2 separate regions of the Homo sapiens genome follow, and region 2 is linked to region 1. Evidence: promoter capture Hi-C in human tissues and cell types (Jung and others, 2019). All regions are on one chromosome and are shown on one strand. The core of a region is centred on a gene start or on the middle of the fragment in contact, and the rest is flanking DNA. Distances in the headings are between cores, read along the strand shown.

The links. Contacts are between HindIII fragments. The study calls those that stand out against the background at their distance.
Region 2: a fragment that was not itself captured here is called in contact with the fragment with the promoter of GLIPR1L2 in region 1 in 1 of the 25 tissues and cell types used here (heart right ventricle).

What each region holds. Positions count from the first base shown.
Region 1 is chr12:75,388,008-75,393,629 of GRCh38, forward strand. It overlaps GLIPR1L2 (GLIPR1 like 2), which reads left to right and starts at 3,082. Exons shown (of 6, transcript NM_001270396.2): 1 at 3,082-3,343. The coding sequence starts at 3,110. It also overlaps a transcript of CAPS2 not described here. RefSeq lists a silencer at 2,884-3,056 and an enhancer at 3,014-3,143. The HindIII fragment of the contact is 8,343 bases long and covers 1-5,227 here.
Region 2 is chr12:75,230,024-75,235,645 of GRCh38, forward strand. It overlaps LOC100130268 (a long non-coding RNA gene), which reads left to right and starts at 4,717. Exons shown (of 2, transcript NR_149000.1): 1 at 4,717-5,094. The HindIII fragment of the contact is 5,670 bases long and covers 1-5,355 here.

The sequences.
Region 1 (5,622 bases), core at 1,832-4,331:
TGATATGGTTTGGCTCTGTGTCCCCACCCAAATCTTACCCTGAATTGTAATAATCCCCACGTGTCATGGGAGAGACTAGGTGAGAGGTAACTGAATCATGGGGGCAGGTTTTTCCCGTGCTGTTCTCATGGTAATGATTATGTCTCATGAGATCTGATGGTTTTATAAAGAGTAGTTCCCCTGCACATGGTCTCTTGGCTGCCACCATGTAAGATGTCCCTTTGCTCCTCCTTCGTCTTCCACTATGATTGCGAGGGCTCCCAGCCATGTGGAACTGTGAGTTCATCAAACCTCTTTCCTTTATAAATTACCCAGTCTTGGGTCTGTCTTTATTAGTGGCATGAGAATAGAATAATACACCAATACCTAGAATCAGCCAACATGTCCTTCAGTAGCTACTGGAATAAAGAAATGTTGGTACATCCAGAAAATGAAAAATTATTCAGTGCTAAAAAGAAATTAGGTATCAAGCCACGAAAAGACATGGAAGAAATTTACACACATATTACTAAGTGAAAGAAGCCAATCTGAAAAGACTACATACTGTATGACTCCAACTATATGACATTCTGGAAAAAGCAAAACTATGAAGACAGTAAAAAAAAATTAGTAGTTGCCGGGGTTAGGAGGCAGGGAGAGATGAATAGTCTGAGCACCAGGGATTTTTAGGCAGCAAAACGACTCTATATGGTACTAAATGCTGGAAACATGTCATTATACATTTATACCAACCCATGAAATGTGCAACACCAAGAATGAGCCCTAATATACACTATGAACTCTGGGTGGGAATAATGGATAAATGTAGGTTCATCAGTTGTAAATGTACTACTCTGTTGTGGGATGTTGATAATGAGGGAGTTTATGTATGTGTGGGGACAGGAGTTACATGAGAAATCTCTGTACCTTCCTCTCAGTTTTGTTGTGAACCTAAAACTGCTATTAAAAAAGAGTCTATTTTTAGAAAAGGAATTGGTAAAAAAAACAAAACAAAACAAAAAAAACACAGAAGTAGCTCTACCACTCCCTGGCTGGGTGGCCTCAGGCAATTTGATTTCTCTTTTTCTCAGTTGTTTTTCCATCTGTTAAAGGGATAATAACTATTTCTTAAGATTTGTGTGACTTGAGTGAGTTGATATTGTCCAAGCATTTTAAATAGTGCCTGACACATTAAATATTTGTGAAATAGATTAAAAATAGTATTCACCACTCTGTATTGTAACTGTTTGATGATTCATCTGTGTCACCTTTAATTAAAAGCTCCCTGTGGATAGACTCCATGTCTAGCTTGTTCAGCATTTGAGCCTTTAGCTGGGCTGTGACACACAGGAAGTACCAAGGAAATATTTATTGAATGAGATGTCTAGCAGTGGAATGGGCTTCCCTGTTGGTCTAATTATTTAAGAAAAGGATGTGATGATCACCTGTCAGTGATGTTCCGGAGAGTATACCTAACACAGGAGGCTAGCAATAGTGGCTAAAATTTCTTCCAAATCTAAGATTGCATTATTCTATTTATACTTTTTCTTTAGCATTTTTTGCAGTCTAACAACAGTACCACCATAATAAAAGAATTGCATCTTTCAGCACTTGCCACCTTCACCCTTAAATAGGTTCTAGCCATACTAAAATACTTCTAGCGTTTAGGATCTTCCTCTCCTTAGGCACATTACATGCTTTTCCCTTTGTTTAGAATGCTATCTTAGACTTGTCTGTTTCACTTTCTGTATACAATTTCCAGAAAGGCTTCCCTGCTCCTCCACAAGAGTACCAAGCAATAGAATTTTGGCTTTGTATTTATCACGTTTTAAATACTGCCTGATTGCTAATTCACTAAATTGTAAGCTGCTTGAAAGCTGGATCTGTGTCTTGTCTACTGATCTTTCTCAATCACTTAAAACTTACTACTATGCAGTCATAGTAGTAAGTATTCAAGGGCATAAATGAAACCATCTTACATAGGTCTATTGTTTTTCAATTGTGTGCATCACAGACAATTTTTAAAAGCACTTTTCTTTTTATAAATGTTTGGCTAACCTGTTACAATGTTTTGTAGTAAAATTCTCTCCCAATGTCAATTTTCCATATCTGCTTAATGCTATTAAGCACAATATGTAATATGCAAACGTGTATTCCAAAACTAATACTTGCTTTTTTTCCATGCTTAGAATTTAAAGTCTTCAAAGCAAGTTGGTTTTGTTTTGTTTTGTTTTTGAGGAAAATGTTTGGAGGTAAACAGATCAGACCAAAATCAGCTAGATATTAGCCAATTTTGTCTGGAACAAAAAAAGAAAACAAAAGAGTTCGTTCTTACTGTGAATGCCACAATTAGTGAAAAAGATGAATCTTGATATTCCGGGCTGTCTGAATTGTGCTGATGAGAGAAGAAGTAGAAATGTTTTAACCTTTGAAGAGTTTGGTGATCCCTACTCTCCCTTCACTCCCATTTATTTTGTGGTTTCCCACAAAGGTTCATTTAAAAACTGAAAAAAATCTCATCAATTAAGTTGGCCTTAAGAACTTCTTTGGCCTTAAGAACTAGCAATATTTCTGTATTCCATTCTGTCCCTGAGGAAAATAAAAGGCAGGCCCTGCACCAAATTTCCAACTCAACAGGTAATGGGGAAAAAAAATTTAATTGAATTTGTATCTGTATCGCAGAAAAATCATTTCACCTGGCACAATTAGAAGGTTCCTCAGACCTGTTACTCAGCAATTGGCATTTACCATACAAACTGATGACTCATTAATAACGACATATCATTCAGTGTCAGAAATCAATTCGGGATAACATTTCACTACATTAGTTTAGTGAAAAGGGCTTACTCACGTAACACAAGTCTTTCTTTAGTTTGTCAGACATCTATTACCAGCTTTCTTCACTCTGCAGGTCTAGCTTTCCCCTCCTCTCCCCCTCCCCTACCCACTCTCCCCTCCCTCTTCTCTCCTCCCTCCTCCTTACCCCCTCCTCCCTCCTTTGTTTTTCCCTCCTCCCTCCTCCCTTTCTCCTTCCGGGAGGCGGGACAAGGCTTGCTTGCGTCCTCCGTAGATTGGCAGGTCACTGGGACGGCCAGCGCGTGCGCACTGGCCTGTCAGCGGCCGGTGGACCATGGAGGCCGCAAGGCCCTTCGCCCGGGAGTGGAGGGCCCAGTCCCTACCCCTGGCAGTAGGGGGCGTTTTGAAGCTGCGGCTCTGTGAGCTGTGGCTACTGCTACTGGGTTCTAGTTTGAACGCCAGATTTTTGCCAGACGAGGAGGACGTAGACTTTATCAACGAGTACGTGAACCTCCACAATGAGCTGCGGGGCGACGTCATTCCCCGAGGGTCTAACTTGCGCTTCATGGTGAGGCCGGAAGGCGGTTTGCCGACCCTTCCACTACCGTTGCCACAACGCCTCCCTGGATCTCGGGTAGTTGGGGCCACTGCTCTGAGGCTGAAGGATCGCGGAGAACCGCACTTTTAGCTTGGTTTTTAAAGTACACGTGAAGTTTACACAGAGAAAAACTGCGGACACTCTAACACATGCTTATTACCATGATATTACACAGGGCCAGGACTAAGGTGATGGAGGCACTGGCCTGAAGTGCAGATTTTAAGGGGGCGCCAATTCAAGAAAATGATATTTTAATGCAACGGGTTTTTAAAAATTAAAAATCAGTGCAAAAATATCAATATCAAGGGTAAAGAAAATGTTAAAAAATTTAACAAAGACAGGTTCCTTGGGTCTGGATTAGGGAAAAACAAGTGCGACACTCTCAGGGTGGTGCAAATCAAGATGAGATTCTGTTTGTATTTGAAATTTTTATTTTTAGCTTTTTCCATCATCGATGTCACATTAGCTTTGCCTTTTAAAAATGTTTGTTATCTTGATTTTTTTTTTTTGTGCCCATTCCAAATTTGGCTCCTAAGGAAGTGTCTCAGTTTCCTCACCCTAGTCTTGACCCTGATTTTGCCTTACCTTACAATGCGGTTCTTGCTTTCCCCCTCTTTTACACCCTATAGTCATTTAACAACTCAACTATTCCCTGGTTGCTATTGAGTTTTCCTGACTGTCATTAAAATGACTGAAAATCCGGCAAATAAATAACTGTCCTCTTAGGGAATTAGAAGCTTCAAACTTATAAATTATATTGCAAGGACTACTTTCCTAGACATGTCTTTTCTTCCTTCAGCATTAGTTCTTAGCACAAATTTCAGAAATGGGATAAATAAATTAAGGGTATGATATTTTTTATTAATTTAACACATAGCAATTGCTATGCTAAAGGGTAGTGCCAAATTTAGCAAATACCAGCTGTTCTGTTTTCACCACATCCTCACTGATTTGGACATGTTCAATTACTTGCTAAATGAATAAATTACAAAAATGGTCATTTGTTTTAATGTTGATTTTAAAATACTATTTTGATAGGACATACTTGAGTTCTTTCTTCGTCATTTCCTTTACCTTTTATATTGTCAGCATTTCCATGTCAGATTATATGCTGTCTTATAGAACTATGCTAGCATTTGGTTCTATCTGCTGAAGATACTTTTTTCTAAGCCAATTCTTTTTCTTTTGAATTCAATTATAGAGTTTGGGGATATTTGGGAGTTTCAACTAATTTCCCATTTTTTGTGACTAATTCTGTTTCTTCCCAATTTGAAGATTATCCTTACTCCTGAAAATTAATAAACACATAATACTTTCTAATACAACTTTTCATAGGTTTTCTATCTCATCTCTAAAAATTATATAGTATTTCAAACATAAGGTATATAAAATAATATACCTGTATACCCACAATCGATATTTTTAAATATAGACATTTTTAAAGGAATAGTATTTGATATATAGGTTAAAGTCCCACCCTAAATTTTTACCTTTTTCTTCTTTCTTGAAGTTAATGTATATTTTTCCCATGTATTTTATTAGGACATAAATATTAACTGTAAATAGTATAGTCTATCATAATAGTATGGCCTATTTAAAATGTTTCTTTAGCAGATTTGGACATCACTCAGCTTATTTAAACTCTTTTATTGGTTATTTTTAGTATTTTAATGTATGTACTTTTTATAAATTCCAAAAGTTAATACCTGTAAACTCCACCCAAATATTAATAAGATCTTAGAACACAAATTCTGAATACTTTCCATCCTTATTCATGCTATTGCCGTGTAGTACTTTTGTTCTACCTTGCTTTTAAATACCAAAAAAATTGTTGTTTTTAAAAAATTGTATTACAATATACAGGACATAACATTTACCATTTTAACCATTTTTAAGTGTATAGTTCAGTGGCATTAAGTACATTTGCATTGTTGTGCACCCATTACCACCACCTATCTCCAAAATTTTTTCGTCTTCCTGAACTGAGACTCCATACCCATCAAATAATTACTTTACTCTCCATCTCCCCTCCTCCCAGGCCTCTATCACCATTCTACTTTCTATTCCTATTAATTTGACTTCTTAAGGTACCAAATATAAGTGGAATCATATAATATTTGTCTTTGTTACTAGCTTATTTCATTTGGTATAATGTCTATAAAGTTCACCCATGTTGTAGCATGTGTCAGAATTACCTGTCTTTTTACAGCTGAATAATATTCTACTGTATGCATATACCACATTTTGTT
Region 2 (5,622 bases), core at 1,271-3,770, 160 kb before region 1:
GTGACAGATTTTGACTGAATTCCTATTTTTTCTAGTATAAGTATAGCCACCTTGCTCTTTTTTAGTTACCTCTTGCAGGAAGTGTTTTTTCTGTCTTTTAACTTTCAGCCTATAAATGTCCTGAAAGCTAAATTGAATATCTTGTAGGAGGCACATTGTTCAACTTTTTAAAAATATGTTCAGCTATCCTGTGCCTTTTGATCAGATACTTTAATCTATTTACATTTAAAGTCATTATTTAAAACACTTACTGCTGACATTTTGTTTTCTGACCATTTTGCGGTTTCTTTGTTCCGATATTTCTCTTGTGTGATCTTATTTGGTGACTTCTTTATGGTTTTAGTGGTACACTTTGATTCATTTCTCTGTTTTGAGTATCTACCAGAGGTTTTTTCTTTCTGATTACCAGGAGGACTATATAAAATATTTACTGTAATAGCAGTCTATTTTAGCTGATAACAACTTAAGTTCAATCACATACAAAACTTCATACTTTTGTTTCTCTTCTCACACACATTTTACGCTATTGGTGTCACACTTTATACCTTTTTATATTGTGTATCTATTAATAAATTAATGTAGCTATAGTTATTTTTAATCCTTTTGTATTTTTACTCTTACACTGGAGTTAAAGGTGATTTCTGCATCACCATTACACTATTACAGTATTCTGAACTTGAATATATATTTAGCTTTATTTATAAGCTTTATACCTGTACATGTTGTTAAACAACAGGTTTTCATGTTGTTACTTAATATTCTTTTGTTTTAACTTGTATAGTACCCTCTAGCATTTTTTATAAGGCATGTCTAGTCGTGATGAACTCCCTTGGCTTTTGTTTGTCTGGGAATGTCTTTATGTATCCATTTCTGAAGGATTGTTTTGCCAGGTGTATTACTGGCTGTAAGGGTTTTTTTTCTTTCAATGCTTTGAGTATATTATCCTACTTCTTCTTGGTCTGCAAGGTTTATGCTGAAAAACATCTACTCATAACTTTTTCAGGTACCTTTTTATGTGATAAGCCATTTTTCTCTTCCTGCTTTCGAAATTATTTTGGTATTTGACTCCTGACAATTTTATTACAATACACAGCAAAGTACTCTCTTTTGGACTGATCTTCATTAGGTATGTTTCAGATTCATAAATCCAGATGTCCATATTCCTTTTAAAATGTAGAAAGTTTTCAGTTGTTGTTTCTTTAAATAAGTTTTCTGGCATTTTCTCTCTCTCCTCCTTCTAGGACTTAATGTATATGTTTGTTTGTTATAGGCTTTTCATGTTTCCTGTATGCTTTCTTCACTCTTTTTCATTTATTTTTTTTTCCCTAACTGGTTAACTTCAGGTGACCTCTCTTTTAGTTAACCGAATCTTCCTTCTGCATGATTGAGTGTGCTGTTGAAGTTCTTAACTGAATGTTTTCAGTTCTATTATTGTATTTTTTATCTCTAGGATTCTAGCTTTTATGGTTTCTATTTCTTTATTAAACTTCTTATTTTGTTCCTTCATTTTTTTCTAATAATGTTTAGTTTTCTGTGTTCTCTTGCATCTCATTGAGCATCTTTAAGATGATTATTTTGAATTCTTTGGCACGTAATTCATAGATCTCCATTTCTTTGGGGGATGGTTACTAGGGCTGTATTGGTTTCTTTTGGTGATGTTATGTTGCCTGATTCTTCATGATCTGCATAGCTTTGCATAGATGTCTGTGTATTTGAAGGAAAAAACAAACAGCTCTTCAGTCTTTACACACTGGTTTTGGCAGGTAAAGATCTTCTATTGTTAGGTCCCTCAGATTTATGAGACTGCCTCCAGGATCACAGTTGAGTGGTGTTGGAGCCAGGTCATATGGCTGCTGCTGGATCCACAGGGGAATCCATGATTACCAGGCCTGTTATTAGTAGTTCAGGTAGACATACATGAATCCTGTCTGATACCTGGGTGGATAAAATTTCCTCCAGGACCTTAGTCAGTAGGGCTGATGTTGGGACAAGAGTCTATTTCATGGTCTGCCATTGGATCTCTAGACAGTGGGACTGTTACCAGATGTCTCTTGCTGGGTCCCTGGGTGAACAGGACTGCTCCCAGATAGCAGCTGGGAGGGATCAGAGGCAAGACACAAAGCTGCTTCATAATCCATGGTCAAACCAGTGCCAGCAGTTCTACCTCTGAGGTCACAGATAGTCATGTCTCCCAAATAATTCCACAGGCAAGACTGCTCCTGGACCATGCTTGAAGGGGCTAGAGTTGGATCATGCACTACTTCAGGGTCCATAACCTGAACTGAAGTCCCAGGTGCTTTTGGCTTTTCCTGTGTTTCTTGGCAGATGGTTCTGGTGTTAGAACTAAGGCCAAATGAAGTTGTAGCTGAATCCAAAGAGGTACATAGCTGATTTTAGGTTTATAGCCAGAACCATGGTCAGTAAGCCTGCCAGATGGGAGCATACGTGTCTTTTCAAAATGGCACTACTCAGTCTTGGGCTCCATCTGGGTTTCACAACCTCCTACCTGGATGCCAAAGCTCCCACAAAGGCAATTTTGTCCATGGATAAATATTGTTGCTGTTGTGGGATATGAGTGAGGCACCTCCTATTTCACTGTTTTCCTGGTATCACTCTTTCATTTTGTTATTATTTATAGTTTCACTTTTTCTGTAAAATTTTTCAATTTTTTTCTTTTAATTCCTTAAACAGGCACACCATGGTTATTTTAAAGTCTGTGTCTGTTTACTTCATTTTCTCTTTTTCTTACTGGTTATTTCTATATTCTCTTCTCTTGGTTTTTAATCATGTTGACTGCCTCCACGAATTACTTCATTTTTTATTGAAATTATAAATGAAATGTTATGAAAATGTGATGACATTAATTCCCTCTAGAAAGGATGCACCTTCCACAAGCATTTCTTTTACTGCTGTATAATCTTTTATTAAGGGTTGCTCAAAAAAAAATAGGAATTGGCTATTCTAACTTAGCAATTATCCAGGACAAGTAAGTGCTTGACTAATTTAGTTAATCTTGCAAATTAAAATTTGACCTTTAACGATACTCTTTATTGATCTATTTAATAACTATATATTGTTAAATATTTTTAAATCTATGCAGCTAGGAGAGCTAGTAATGATAGATCACTTGGATCCTTTTACAGAGATAAGGGTGACTTGATCTGGGCTAACGTTTTTTGAAGGGTTTTTCTACTTATTTTTCAATCTTATTTCTATGGTGTAACCTTTCAAATTCCAATCCAAAGGTGGGAAATTGACTAGTGCTATCCCTTCTTGATAAATTCTGGATACCAATATTTTCCCATAGTCCTACAAGTCTATCTAGGTTTTGCTCTGTTATTTCCTTCTAAGCCTTTTTTTCTAGAATTGACAGGTATCTCTTCTTGAAATACTACCCCAAGTGTCAGGCTTACTTCTCTGAGTTTTTATCTATCCCTGAATCTGACTTCATAATTCCTCACTACCTGTTGACTCTATGTGCTTTCAAGCAATTTTGTGTTTATATTTTGTCCATTTTTCTAGACATTCTAGATGATCTGCATTTTTTGGCTGCCATTTCTAAAAGCATTTCTCTGTTACCATTTGCTAAAGGTTACTCAAAAAAAGTATGGTTTGCCTGTTTTAATTTAGTAATGACATAAGACAAACAGAAACAGTGTCTGAACAATTTTATTTAACTCATTTTTGCAAAGAACTTATTTTAGAATACTTTGTGTTATCTACTTAACAATTATTTATTGAGGGCTTACTATGCACAAAGTACTGCTTCAAATCATGAGCATACAGTAATGAAAAGACACCCAAGTTTCTTACCTCTCAGCACTTACTTTGTCACTGGTGTAATATAAAAAGCAAATGGATAAGAAACTATATAACTTCAGATTATCATAAATGGTATGAAGAGAATAAACCGTGAATTGTTATAGAAAAGTAAATTGCAAGATAAAACTTAAACATTAAAAAGAATCCCTTGTGCACAGTGGTGGGAAAATGGTGTCCAGGCATAGGTAACTAAATAAAAAAATACCCTGAGAAAGAAAAAAAAGCTTGCTATATTAGCAGATCATGGCTAAACTATGATGTTGTTAGCAAGCAATTAGTATAATTTGAAATTCAAAAGGAGCACAGAGTCTGGATCATGTAGAACCTTGTATAAGAACAGCTCAGCTTTGTTCCATAACTTTTTAAAATTGAAGATCATATAAGTTATGGTGCTGTATTATAGCTGAGTTAGCTGCCATAATATTTCTTCCCATTTTCTTACCAAAAAATGCTGTCAGCCCACTAAACTGGTAGGAGTGCCCTATACTGTCAAAACACTTCATAACTACATTGTTTCTACTGACAGTTTTACCTCTTGGAGGGTAGTGGAAGCAACTGGGGAAATTGCTACTCTGAACTTAATAACAAACAAAAGGGAAAAATTGGTTGGAAAAGTAAAAGTGATAAGAACCATGGGGACAGGAAATAATACTTCTTTAGAATTTAAAATCGCACCAAAAGAAAATCCTGAGCACATTCAGACAGTCATTAAATCTTTGAAGAAAATGTTTTTATTAGTTTAAAAACAAAGTGAAAATGGACTCAGGATGTTGGAACCTAAGAAGGAAGACCGCAAGTGTTTCAGAATGTTCCACAAAAAATAGTTCTGCTTACATCATTATGGAAGGAATTTTGATGAGACAGGTCATAGAGGGAAAAGAAAAAAAGGCTAATATAGCCATAAAGAATGCTTTTAAATCAAGTAATACACTTGACTTAGAAAGACAAGCCAGCGGCAATTATAAAATAATGACACCTAAGAATGTTTTCAAGAAGTCTGGTTCATAATGCATTCAAACTTAAAAAAATATTAAAGACAACTAAAAAAATTTTGCTCATTTTTGGAGCAAAAAAACTACCAAAGAAGGAGCAGCTTGAGGGAATATTAATGGATTATGAGAAGAAAATGAAACTGAACTATTTTGCGTTATCCTACAAGATGAATGATTATAGAGTACAATAGACTGACTAACCAGGAGTTGAAAGCCAGATCATAAGATATTTGAAGAGACACAGTAACCTCTCAAAATGAGGCCAATTTTCTTAGATCAGGTGAGTTACCCCTGGAGTGTTAAAATAATTTGCAAATGAATTTGCTGAAGAATATGTGATGGGCATTCATCTTTCAGAAATCTTAGTGAGTAGAGATGAGCTGGTGAAAGCCTAGAGAGAATCTAATATCTTTCTAATATTCAAAAGAGCAGAGAACAAAGTGAAAAATCCTGAAGACTGTTCTTATCTAAATAACACTTTCAGAACGGATTATAACGGTATAGTTTATGAACTTTACAAAATGAAGCTGTTTTTATTAGGAAATAGTAAGTTTACTAATGGCAAGTTATATATTCTAATGCATTTTTCCATCTCTCCTTTGCTTTCTATGCTCCAACCACAGAGATCTCCCTTGCATCCAAAAACCTGGCATACAGTTTGGGTATCCCTTCTCCAAGATATGTGGGGCCAGAAAATTTTCAGATTTTGGAATATTTGCATATATATAATGAGATATCATGGGATCAGACCCAAGTCTAAACACAAGAATTCATTTATATTTCATATACACCTTGTCCACGTAGCTTG